Regions from separate parts of the Homo sapiens genome. Here region 1 is linked to region 2. Evidence: promoter capture Hi-C in 16 types of primary human blood cells and fetal thymus (Javierre and others, 2016). All regions are on one chromosome and are shown on one strand. Each heading gives the region's core, a stretch centred on a gene start or on the middle of the fragment in contact. The rest is flanking DNA. Distances are from core to core; before and after follow the strand shown. Region 1 overlaps CIRSR (corepressor of RBPJ and splicing regulator). Region 2 holds the start of EVX2 (even-skipped homeobox 2).

Region 1 (5,998 bases), core at 1,011-3,510, 1.7 Mb before region 2:
AATCTATTAAATATATACTTCTAAATTACCTGAGAAGTTTCTGTTTTTGTTTGGTTGTTAGTGACTTTAAAAATTCAACTTCTGGATCTTCTTCACCCTCACTTGCAACATACTCCTGAGTCAACAAAGATATCATTAAATTGCTAGATTTCAACACAAGGTAGTTAGTAGATAAAAAAGAAAACATTTATAAATAAGTTTTGTATCAGGGACACACTGTAGATGAATATGATATTTTGGATTGGGAAGTGGGAGAGAATTAAAAAATTTTTTTGTAGTCTCCCTGCCGAAGTGGATCATACAGCACTAAGAGGTTAACATGACTGCTTTGCCAGCATTAGGAAACTTTTCCAGGAAAAGGATGATAGACACACACAGATAAAATGTTTAGAGCATGACTTCCATTCTCTATCTCTTGAATGTTAACTCTTGCCAGTTTAAATACTTTATTTTTAATTTAATGAAATATAAAAAAGAAGATTATGAGTTTTACAGGAATGTCAAAATATCCACAATTTTAGCTTTTATTATAATTTCAACAGCACATTATCAAATATATAATAATATAGCCCTTCAAACTCAATCATTTTCTGGATCTATGTATAGTTTAATAAAATAAATAAGTTTAAAATATTTTCTACAATTTTTAGGAGTTTTTACATACTTCTAACCATTGGTTCTATTTAATGTCATATCAGGGGTAAGTTAGCAGGAAGGAAAAACCAACAACCTCATCACCAGTTCAGTTAGATATTTTATCCACATAAACTCAGAGGAGCAGTTTCATTTATTAAAATACAGGTTTATAAACAATTTCTCATTTAGATTAAAATAATAAAGCAAAATCAAAACACATTTTGGGCATTTTCTTTGCTCTATCTTACTTTCCTATGGATATATGCATATTGGAAAACATTAAGTAGCAATTCACAAGCAATCACATTTAGATTTATAGACATTTTCAGCTTACTGATAAAAAGATCATTACCTGTGATGGATCATTTGCGGTCAAGTTTCTCCCCAGTACATTTCGTTTCAGTGCAAACCCACTGTTTCTCATCTCCGCTATTAGCTCCGAGGGGTGCATCGATGGCCCTGTTCACAAAAATCACAGTTTGAATGTATCATTTATATCTCTCTACCTTTTTCGGACTCCACAGTAGGAATGCAGTTGAAGCTTTGTTAAGTAAAATCACAGCTAAATCAACTCAATAATCTTCTGCTGAGCAAATAATCAGATATGATTTTCTAAAACAGCAGTCTGGAGATTCAGAATAGAAAATAATTGCATTTTTCTTTACGTGCAAGGGGAGTCTTCTTATGTAACTTTGTCATATTGAAAAAGATACATTTAGATGTTATCTGGTTGGCAGTTTTTAGTATAAAATCAAAGCAAAATATTATAATAAAAAACTACAATTAAACTTTTAGTAGTTATTCTCTCAGTAAGAGTTCATTTAAAAGATGTATTTTTAAAGGTACATGAGGAATTTATCATCCTTATTTCCAATTCAAAATTCCTCATCCTTATTTGTCAAATAACAATACTGAATACATTGCCAAGTGGTTGCTAATCACACACACACACACACACACATACACACACACACACACCTATGGGTAACCACCAAGTACTTTAATTAATCTTGCTTTTATTCCCAGATTTCAAAATTTTTAATTACTAGCTTGGGTTGCTAACAAGCAGTTTTAGGCTGGCTATTGGTATGTATGTTTTATATTTTTTTACACTACACTTCCACTTTTGCAAAATCTCAGACTGAAAAGTGAGCTTTTTGTTTCCCAAATATGAACTAACAATAAATTTTAAAAATTTTCAGCTGGGAGTGGTGACTCATGCGTGTAATCCCAGCATTTTGAGAGGCAGAGGCGGGAGGATCACTTGAGCCCAGGAGGCCAACTTGGCCAACATGGCAAAACCATGTCTCTAAATAAATAAATAATTTTTTTTTAAAGGTTTGCCCCCTGCCCTCAAACATAAGGTTTATGTAAGGTAAGAGAGACTCTTATCTCATTTTGTATATTCCTGTTTCATTTTGTTTTCCCTGCAGATAGCAAACTAATGACAACATTTCATGGCAGCTATTTAAAGTTGCCAGCCTAAATCACCTACACTGGCTTAAATGACGTACTCCAGCTGATGTGTCTGTCACTTAGGGAAGAATGAGACAGTTACTGCCAAAAAGGAGTTCATACGGGAGGGTAGGGGGATAGAAAAATATTCAGAAATGAGTTCTTTAGTTTGCTGGTTGAATACTTTGTCTATTTCTTTTTACTGCTTTGTTGGTCTTTTACCACTTATTTGCGCACTCACCTGCATATTATCATGGAAAGCAAAAGGCAATCAGTTCAAATTTGTTTACCTGTCAATAGCAGATGTGGTTAAAAATTTGGTGAGAAAAACTCAGTTATAAGATAATATATTTTACTGGACTTTCCAGGCTTTACCATTCCATTCATATTGCGAAGAACAACTGTAAGTTTGCCCTAGGTACTAGGGAGATGATGGGGAAAAACTGTCTATTATTGGAGTATGGGGGAAGTTATTAATGATGTCATAGTTTTAGGAAAAAAAGCCTTATTTAGTTAAAAACAAACAAAAACACCTGTCTTATATTAATATTTCATTTTAAACCAAGAGGGTTTTTAATTTTTTTCTTCTATACAAAATGTTTAATTCCTATGTATTACTTTAATGGCCCTTTAATTATTCAGTCTGGTTGTTAACATTGATAATACAATCTTAAATAAAATTGAATTTTAAATATTAATACTGGTTGCCTCTAAATGGCATAGAGGTGCTCATACAATTAAGAGCTTTTTGTGTGTGTGTGTGTGAGATGGAGTCTTGCTCTGTTGCCCAGGCTGGAGTGCAGTGGCACGATCTCGGCTCACTGCAACCTCCGCCACCTGGGTTAAAGCAATTCTCCTGCCTCAGCCTCTGGAGTAGCTGGGATTACAGGCAACTGCCACCATGCCTGGCTAATTTTCGTATTTGTAGTAGAAACGGGGTTTCACCATGTTGGTCAGGCTGGTCTCAAACTCCTGACCTCGTGATCTGCCAGCCTCAGCCTCCTAAAGTGCTGGGATTACAGCCGTGAGCCACCGCGCCCGGCTCAATTAAGAGCTTTAAATGAATAATAGAATGTTTACTTTGGTGGCTTCTCAAATTTCACATGTAGGAACTTAATTTTATAAAGTAGAAAATGTCTCTTCTGAAGTGTCAAAACTACATTTCCTTGTCAACAATTTTATTAGATATCGAATGAATTCAGACACCAAACTTGTTAATAATTAGAATAAAAACCACTCCAATAAAGGGTCACAAAGCTTGGCCATCATGATGAGAGGTTATACTAATTTCATCAGTTTTCATCACAAGATGGGTAATTTTAATAAGATGTTATAGAAAGCATGCCTTCTTTACAGTACTTCCAACTATGTCAAGAAAATGATGTATTTCCCCAGTGTTACAGAGATTATACAGACTATTAAACAATCATTACTCTTCTAGCATTTATATTTTTCAAAAATCCCAACTGAAAACTCTGTGTAGTATATAAATTTAGCACACTTTCACAATGTATGACTGTAAATAGAGTGCTTAGTGAAGTGCTCGACAAATAGTACTTAATAAAGAGTAACAACTATTATTTTTACCAGTACCTATTCAACTTTCTTATATAAGAAATTGTCTTTTTATAAGATATATTATATATGTACATATATTACTTATATATGTACATATATATTTTATATATTATATATAATATATATTATATGATATATATAATATATTATATAATATAATATATAAAATATATATAATATATATTATATTATATAAATTATATTATATATATCATATAATATATTTTATATATTATATAATATATATTATATTATATATATTTTATATATTATATTATATATTATATATATCATATAATATATATTATATTATATATTTTATATATTATATAATATATATTATATATTTTTATATATTATATAATATATATTATATATTTTATATATTATATAATACATATATTATATATAATATAATATATATTATATAATATATATTTTACATATGTATATATATTATATATATATATATTTTTTTTTTTGGTAGAGACAGGGTTTTGCCATGTTGCCCAGGCTGGTCTTGAATGCCTCAGCTCAAATAATACACCTGCCTAGGTCTCCCAAAGTACTGGGATTACAGTTGTAAGCCACTGCACCCGGCCACTATCCAAATTCCATGACTATCTTACGGTACTTTTCATAATACAAAAAAATGCTCTTAGTAGTAATACTTTTCACAATGCAGTCTTATTCACATTTTTTTTATACTTAAACCTTCTCCTATCAACCAAAGTTCTGAGTTTAAAGTTCTAGGTTTAGGAGATGAAACAAGTCAGGTTTAATCAAGATATATTTAGCAAGTATCTTTCTACTTTCACATTATTATGACAGAGGCTACGTAGAGTTACACTGACAGAAATGACTCCAGATCTTTTGAGAACTCAAAATTTGGTTGATAAAATAGATGATTACAGATACGTTGATAAAATAGATTACACAAATATGTTCAAATGTAAAATAACTACTTTTATGTATGGTGCCTTAATAATTTCAATTATAGCTGGAGTTGGATCTTAAAAATTGTTTGGCTTATTCTTAAATTTGTCATGGTAGAATAATACTAGAGAATTCAGAAAGAAGGCATTTGTTCTAAAATGCAGATTTGTGAGGGCTCCTTTCTAGATCATCTCAGCCAAGCCTTCACAGCATTGAAAACCAATGTTCCCACTTAGAAAAGCAGGTCCACTGAAGAAACTGCTTTCAACATTCATTTATTTTACAAACTTTTCTTTGCTGTGATATGGATAAGTATCAAAATACCAATTGTGTACAGTTCCATGTTCTGATTAGACCCAGGCTCTACTAGAAAAATACCATGAAATCGAGTCTCAGGAAAGAAAAAATTCCTAGAAGGTAAATTATGCTATACAAAATTATGTGTGTAAAGCGCTTAATCTACTCACTAAGAGTATTCATTTTTACAGAACAAAAACAATGAAAGGTAAAAAAAGAATGTCCTGTTGTAAAATAGGTATTTTATCAAAGAATAATATATAAACTCAAAAGTTCTGGCTATGAGGAAATGGCATACAACTGACTCCACAATTATAGTATGGCAGTCCCAGGGGAATGCCACAAATGGCATAGGAGGGAGACTAAAGCTGAAGTCAAAGACACTTGTGTTTCACTGCAAACACTAGGTCCATCTGCTCCATTCGAAGTTCATCATTCTTTTCTTTAGCCAGGATGGTCTTGATCTCCTGACCTCGTGATCCACCCACCTCGGCCTCCCAAAGTGCTGGGATTACAGGTGTGAGCCACCACACCTGGCCCATCATTCTTTTCAAACAATGCATTATCACCTACAATTTTATGGTATTAAGTAGGAGAAAAGGGGGCAGTGAGTTGTAGGTTAGGTAAGGCTGAATTAGAAATGCCTTTCCTGGCCAGGCGCAGTGGCTCATGCCTGTAGTCCCGGCACTTTGGGAGGCAGAGGCGGGTGGATCGCCTGAGTCCAGGAGTTCAAGACCAGCTTGGGCAACATGGTGAGACCCTGTCTCTACAAAAAATACAAAAATTAGCTGGCCGTGGTGGCGCACATGCCTATACTCCCAGCTACTAGAGAGGGTGAGGTGGGAGGATCACTTGAACACAGGAGGTTGAGGGTGCAGTGAGCCTGTGATCTCACCACTGCACTCCGGCCTCAGCAACAGAGTGAGATCCTGTCAAAAGACAGACAGAAAAAAAGACAGACGGGAAGGAAGAAGGGAAGGAAGAAAGAAAGAAAGAAGAAAGGAAGGAAGGAAGGAAGGAAAGGAAGAAAGAAAGGAGAAAGAAAGGAAAGAAAGAAAGAGGGAGGGAGGGAAGAAGGAAGGAAGGAAGAAGGGGA
Region 2 (6,124 bases), core at 235-2,734:
AGTGGCTGTAGGACCAACAGCCCGGCGCTGGCGCTGCGCGCGGATCGGGGAAGCCCCGTCAGGAAGGAGAGTCGCTGCCGGAATTGATGGGGTCTGTCATGCTTACAAATTGCTGCCGTTAATGGAATCAATAAAGTTTGGGGAGCCCTTCATAAGCAAATAATAGAAACGGAATTAGGAGATTTCTTTTTTAATAATTAGAAATTTTCAACCAAGGAGGAAAAGTGGCCGAGGGAAAATGCCTACCTCTGGGCGCAGTTTGGGAAGCTCTGGGTTTCCCATGGTCTGGAGACCGCAGGGCAGCTTTTTATACGGCCTCTAACCTTTATCTGAGTCTTCGGGGTTTCAAATATTTTAAGAGTTCCAACACAGCAGTAGCTCAAACCCAAGCCAATAGGGGGTGAAATATACTTTTCAACTCTTTCTCCCGCTGACCTAAACAGAGACGCCGGCGAGGCTTCCTCCGACTTACCCAGAAGAATGCCCCCTCCAGCCCTGAGGGCACAGGGGCAGGGGAGTTCAGAGTAGTTGCCCAGGGTACCTTTCCCAAAAGCAACTCGGCTGCTGACTAGGGGTCTACCGGCTCGCTCGGGCTCTTAGACACGAGCGCAGAAACATTTTCTCGGACTCAGGAGCGAGGGCGGGTGGGCCTGGTGTTCCAGGCTCCGCAGGCCTGAGCCTGGCGGGAAAGCTCAAGGAGCAGAACTGGAAGGCACGGTCCCAGACATGCGTCCCGCCCCCGCCCGTGCTAGCTCGGTGTAGCTTGCCTGTGGAGGGTCTGAGAGGGGAAAAGGCACCGGGAAAGGCTGGCGGGGGCCGCGGAGGAGCAAAGAGGATGGGACTGGAGAGCGCGGTGCGGCCGGCGCGGTTACCTTTGCCATTGTTTTCCTTAAGCTGAGCGGCGCCGAGGCCCCCGGGGGAGCGAAGCGCGGAGCAGCCCACCTCCACGTCGCTGCTCATGTCGGCCTCAGCGGCCGCCTCTGAATAATGGCCCGGCTTCTTGCGGCTCTCGGCGGCGGAGGAGATTTCGGAGGAGACGGTGCTTTCGCTGCCCGTGTGCTGCAGGTTGAACAAAGTGTCTATTTCGAATTTGCCCTTGGCGGGGAGTTCTCCCAGAGCGCTGTGCAGGGGGGCAGACGGCAGGCGCGGGCTTAGGCGAGCCGGGTGCTGCGAATTTTCCAGGGCCTCGAGCACAGCATTGCCAGCCGAGTTGGACAAATTGGAGAATCTCTTGCCCGCCGTAGGGCTGTGCAGCCCTCTCTCCATCAGAATCATCTCTTTTCTTATTCTTTCCATCATCTCAGCTTTCTTAAAAATGTCACAGTGGCCCTGCTGTCCCGTCCTAATGATAGGCTGCGCCTAGGGCTAATTCTCATTCAGCCCCAGCGAACGCCTCTAAATATTATTATCGCTTTCGGAGGGAGGCGGAAAAATTGTGGGATGCCAGAGCGAGGGAATGACTGGTCAAAATGACCCATACATCCTTCCGATCCCGAGATGTCATTCATCAAAAAGTAGCGCCCGCTCGTCATTAAGGTACGAATGACGCTGTTCGAATAATCATTTATTGTAACAGGTTTATAAGCAAATAAATACACCCTCCTGTCAGTGGGTAATGAAGGCAGCTTCAGAGCAGACAAATAGATCCAGGTAGGAGGCGAGAAGAGACAAGTGAGGAGGAAGGCTCCGGTCCTTTGCCCGCTCCGAGCCAGTTCTGCTCGCCCGGGGGTTTGGCCTCGGGGGTGAAATTGACAGTCTGATTAATAGAGCGCGCCGCGGCACATTTCCCCCTTCATTTAGGGGCATCATTACGCTCTCAGTTTGCTAGGTTGCCCCTTAGGTCCTAATCATGCAGCGCCTTCTTCATTTTTCCTTGGACACAGATACGTATTAAATAATAGATAATGGTTTGACTTTCCAGAGTAGGTCCTCGGGAAGGTTTGGTTTTTTTTTTTTTTTTTTTTTTTTTTTTTACCATTTACAAGCTGGGGGCATAAGTGGGGGGAGATAAGGGGGAGGATGCAGGAAGAGTTGCGTAAGGAGAAGACCTTGCGCCTCTCCTATCTGGATTACTTATCTTTCGGATTTCGGAACCAAATATGTATTTTATTTAACAAATAGGACGCCGGAGTTCTTTCCCTCCCTATTTCTTCACCTCAGCCTAAATGCTCTCCTCCCACCCCGGGAGAGAGAGAGAGCGGAAGAGAGGGAGAGAGGGAGAGAGGGAGAAAGGGAGAGGGAGACGGAGTGAGAGAAAGAGAGAGAGAGAGAGAGAGAGAAATAGAAATATCCTAGAGTTTTGAAAGCGCTTTCTTGCTACGTGGCCGCGGAGGTGCATTGGGCCCGCGCCTCCAAACGGAAATCATTAGGTCCTCTCTGATTTTCTAACACCGTCTGCAGAGTGAGATCTGAACTCGAAGTCCCCGGTTTTTTACTTTTATAATCCTGCTGATAGAAAGCCTTCTCGCCTACGCATTTTCCTGAGGGGAAACGAACTAGGCTGGACGATTTGATAGCAGAATTCGACAGCTAACTTTAAACACAGTGGAGATTTACAGCGCCATACGGGCGCTCCGAATCCACGCTCACGTTGCCAGATTTTCCCCTCCCTCCTCAAATAGAATTATTTGCGGCAAAGGCGCTGGATTTCGAGGTCAAAAGAGGAAAGAGGAGACAGCCTTCTTCCCCTACCTCCCCGCTGCCCTCCCTTCCCCTTTGCTTTTCTTCCTTCTCTCTTTCCTCCCCTCATCAACCCCAGCCCCTTACCTGCGGCCACAGGTATTCCCAGCGTTGGGTCCGGGCGCAGAGAGTCGCCGAACAGCCTTACAGCAGCTCTCTGCGGCCTGGGCTTGGAGGCTGAGCCTCTTGGCGACAACTTTGATAGTCATAATGACGCCGGTGGCAACCATTTTAACGAAGATCAATCTTCACTCCAGGCCGCTCCTCATCTCCCGCGGTTGCGCCCACCCTTCCCTGACCCTCCAAGCACTGTGCCCACCCGCCAACGGCCCAGCCGGAGAGAGATTCGCGGACACAGGCGGAGGCGAGGGAGGACGGGGATGGGACGCGGAGGTCCGCCCGTGAGCTTCTGAAGCGGCTGAGAGACCCTGACAATCTGGGCGCTGGGCGCGGGTCCTGCATCCCCACATTTAGCCTCAATCCGAACCCCAACCAGGGCCCCCTCTTCTTTCTGCCGACACACCCAGAACATTGGGGTGTGTTAGGGGGCAAGCTCGAGATCTATTCGCCTATAGCTCTTGGCGCTTTCCTTTTAACCTTAGACCCGTTGGGGGCGCATCAGGAATGTAAGGGGAAGCGAGGTGTGAAGTATATTTATATACATATATACACACATATAGTCAATGCCAAAAGTTTATCTTCTGTTCCCCTCGGCGCCAACTTATTTCAACAACGCGAGCTTTGCTTAGAAAATCAATTCCACATCTTTAAGGTAATAAACGGAAAGCTCGATAGGCAGGCGGTGCCTGGGGGAACGGGGAACCGGCGGGGAACGCAGAGTGGGCATCCAGCGCACCGGGACTGGGACTTGACCCAGCGTCCACCTCTGCCCCTGCCCCATTGGCCACCCAGCTCCGAGCTCCCTGAGTTCTCATTGCGCCGGCTTTGGGGCCATCAGCGCGGTGGGAGTCCAGCCCTGCCAACGCCCCCACCTGCTCCCTCCCTGCTCCGCAGCCCGGATGCCCAATTCTGCCATGCCTGGCAGTCGCTGCTCCTGTGACCCAGGAAGGGTCCCCCTACCCAGTCCTCGCTTGCTCCAGGGACTGAATGGGACACCTTGGTTCAGGCTCGGGTCGTGCTGGGGTGGTGGGGGTGGGAAGTGGTGCGAGACCCTGGCGGGAGTGTGGGTGAACCGAGGCACTGCTTGGGTGGAAATCCGTGGATGCCTTTATTGCTGTCGTTTGGCGCCCCCATCTGTTTTCCTCGCGGTTTCGGCTGCTGTGAGTTGGTTTTCAAGTCGGAGACGCAGTCACTGGGGACTAAGGTGAGGACTGACGACCCCTTCCTCTATCACTCAGCCCGAGGCTCTCCCACATCTTCCCTTCCTCTGGGACCCGACGCCTCTGGTCCCAAAGGCTGCGCCAAACCGGACCTCAGTCTGTCGAAAGGGAAAACACTATTTCTCAGCAGCACCTTCATTCATTAGTGGCTTTGAAAACTATTTTTGCACCTTTTAAATGACACTGATAGTGCATTTCTAGCACGTTTATTACAAAAAACATGTCAGAGACATGTCAGCGAAACTACTCACAGTAAAAGACACCTATAATGTTTCCACTAAACTGGGTGTAGCAGGCAATAATGTTTCATGAGGTACAGTGACCATTCCATTCCAATATTTAATGTCCCTTAATTTATTTAGAGATTCCACGCCCACTAGTAGTAATATTGGCTAACTTATACAAAACTCTTACTTTGCAATTCCAAGTGCTTTTTACATGTTATCTCAGCTAAGGTTCACAGTAACTCTGTGAGATTTAAACTATTATCCCTTTTCCAGAGATTATGAGCCAGAGGGGTTCAGGGACTTGTGATTTAAACTTATCTCCGATGATAAAGTCAAAAGTGTTGTTTAAAGCCTTGGGCAGCATTTTTTAGGTTAATTCTCTCATTTTGCATATGCCTTATGTAAATACAGGCCTACCTCAAAAACATTGAACCTATATAGAGGGTAGTAAGAAGAGTGCAGTTCTGTTGATTTGTGTGTGTATTTTGTTGTAGTTGTTGTTGGTGGTGGTTTTTGTTTGTTTTGTTTGTTTGTTTGTCTGTTTGTTTTTGAGACAGAGTCTCACACCGTTGCCCAGGCTGGAGTGCAATGGCAAGATCTCAGCTCACCGCAACCTCCGCCTCCCGGGTTCAAGCGATTTTCCTGCCTCAGCCTCCTGAGCAGCTGGGATTACAGGCATACGCCACCACGCCCGGCTAATTTTTGTAGTTTTAGTAGAGACAGGATTTCACCAAGTTGGCCGGGCTGGTCTCGAACTCCTACCTCAGGTGATCCGCCTGTCTCGACCTTCCAAAGTGCTGGGATTATAGGCGTGAGCCACTGCGCCCCTCCCTGTTGATGCTTTTTGATGAAATACCCAAACTTGCACGTCTCCCAGAATGTGAAGGCCAAGGCTGGGAACAGGCCTGTCAAATGTTCCGGGTGGTTTGATGCAGCCTCTGTGACCGTCAAGGCCTCTTACCCACTACCAAGGTACAGAACCCACTAGATAAAACAAGTCAAGAATCCAACCCAAGCCCGCATGCTTTGGCAGAAATTTTTAAGATGGGGTGGGGAGTACAGGAAGGACTTCCTTCGCATGGACTGAAAAGCCCTTTTTGTTCTAAAGGAGTAATGACTTTGAAGAGGCCTAATTTTTTGGTTAGGTTTCCAGACTAAATATTTGTTTCTTGAGCAGCAGCGGGTCCTCTGAGGTGAAGTGGTAAACACTTTTGGCCTATGACTGCAGGTAATAAAAATCTGTCCGGGCTGCCCGAGGGGAGGGGCGCCGGTAAAGCCGTAGCTGCAGCGAAGCCCCGCGTCTGCCGCTGCCGGAGCCTGGCTCTCCTCTTACGCGGGGGGCTGCGGGCAATTGGGGCCGACAACTTGCGGTCCCGCCTTGGGACGCATGCTTGCTCGAGAGCTGGGGCTGCAGGGTGCAGTGGGACAGTAGGACCGCGAAAGCCTGGGCTTCGAGCCTCGGGCTCCCTGTCTTCAGGCGAAGTGCGGTTTCCACGGGTGCAGGTTTCGCTGCATAAGGGAAGACTCAGATTTCGAGCCCTCGGCAGGCCAGCTTCTAGCTCTCTGTCCCTTCCGGGTCTCTCCGGTTGCTTCTGTCTTTCCTCCTCCCACTCCCGTCGCAATCCCGCGCCCCACGGAGGAAGGTCGTGGTGCGGGAGTTGGGGGATACTTTCTTCCTGGGCTCGGTCTACGCAGACCCATCGCCTGCCTCGAGTTCCTGTGCCCTCAGACGCCACGGGAAAACTTGCAGGGACATCTAGCGCCAGGCGTGGGGAACTGCGCGCCGCCGGGCCGGGAAGTGGAGCCGAACACTGCCCCTCCGCCTCCCTTTCGGCTCCCCCCTTCGTGCTTGGGCACTTTCCTCACCTTCATCCCTTT

What was found. Contacts are between HindIII fragments. The CHiCAGO score rates a contact against its expected background, and 5 or more counts as called.
Region 1: a contact is called between a fragment that was not itself captured here and the fragment with the promoter of EVX2 in region 2, in 1 of 17 cell types (total B cells). The highest score is 5.2, in total B cells.

What each region holds. Positions count from the first base shown.
Region 1 is chr2:174,350,631-174,356,628 of GRCh38, forward strand. CIRSR (corepressor of RBPJ and splicing regulator) reads right to left here. Exons shown (of 10, transcript NM_004882.4): 8 at 989-1,095; 9 at 30-115. Among named protein-coding and RNA genes, the nearest start is that of SP9, 19 kb to the left of the region's middle. The HindIII fragment of the contact is 2,171 bases long and covers 1,176-3,346 here.
Region 2 is chr2:176,082,478-176,088,601 of GRCh38, forward strand. EVX2 (even-skipped homeobox 2) reads right to left here and starts at 1,485. Exons shown (of 3, transcript NM_001080458.2): 1 at 873-1,485. The coding sequence starts at 1,299. It also overlaps a transcript of HOXD13 not described here. RefSeq lists enhancers at 244-859, 3,310-4,134. The HindIII fragment of the contact is 15,744 bases long and covers 1-6,124 here.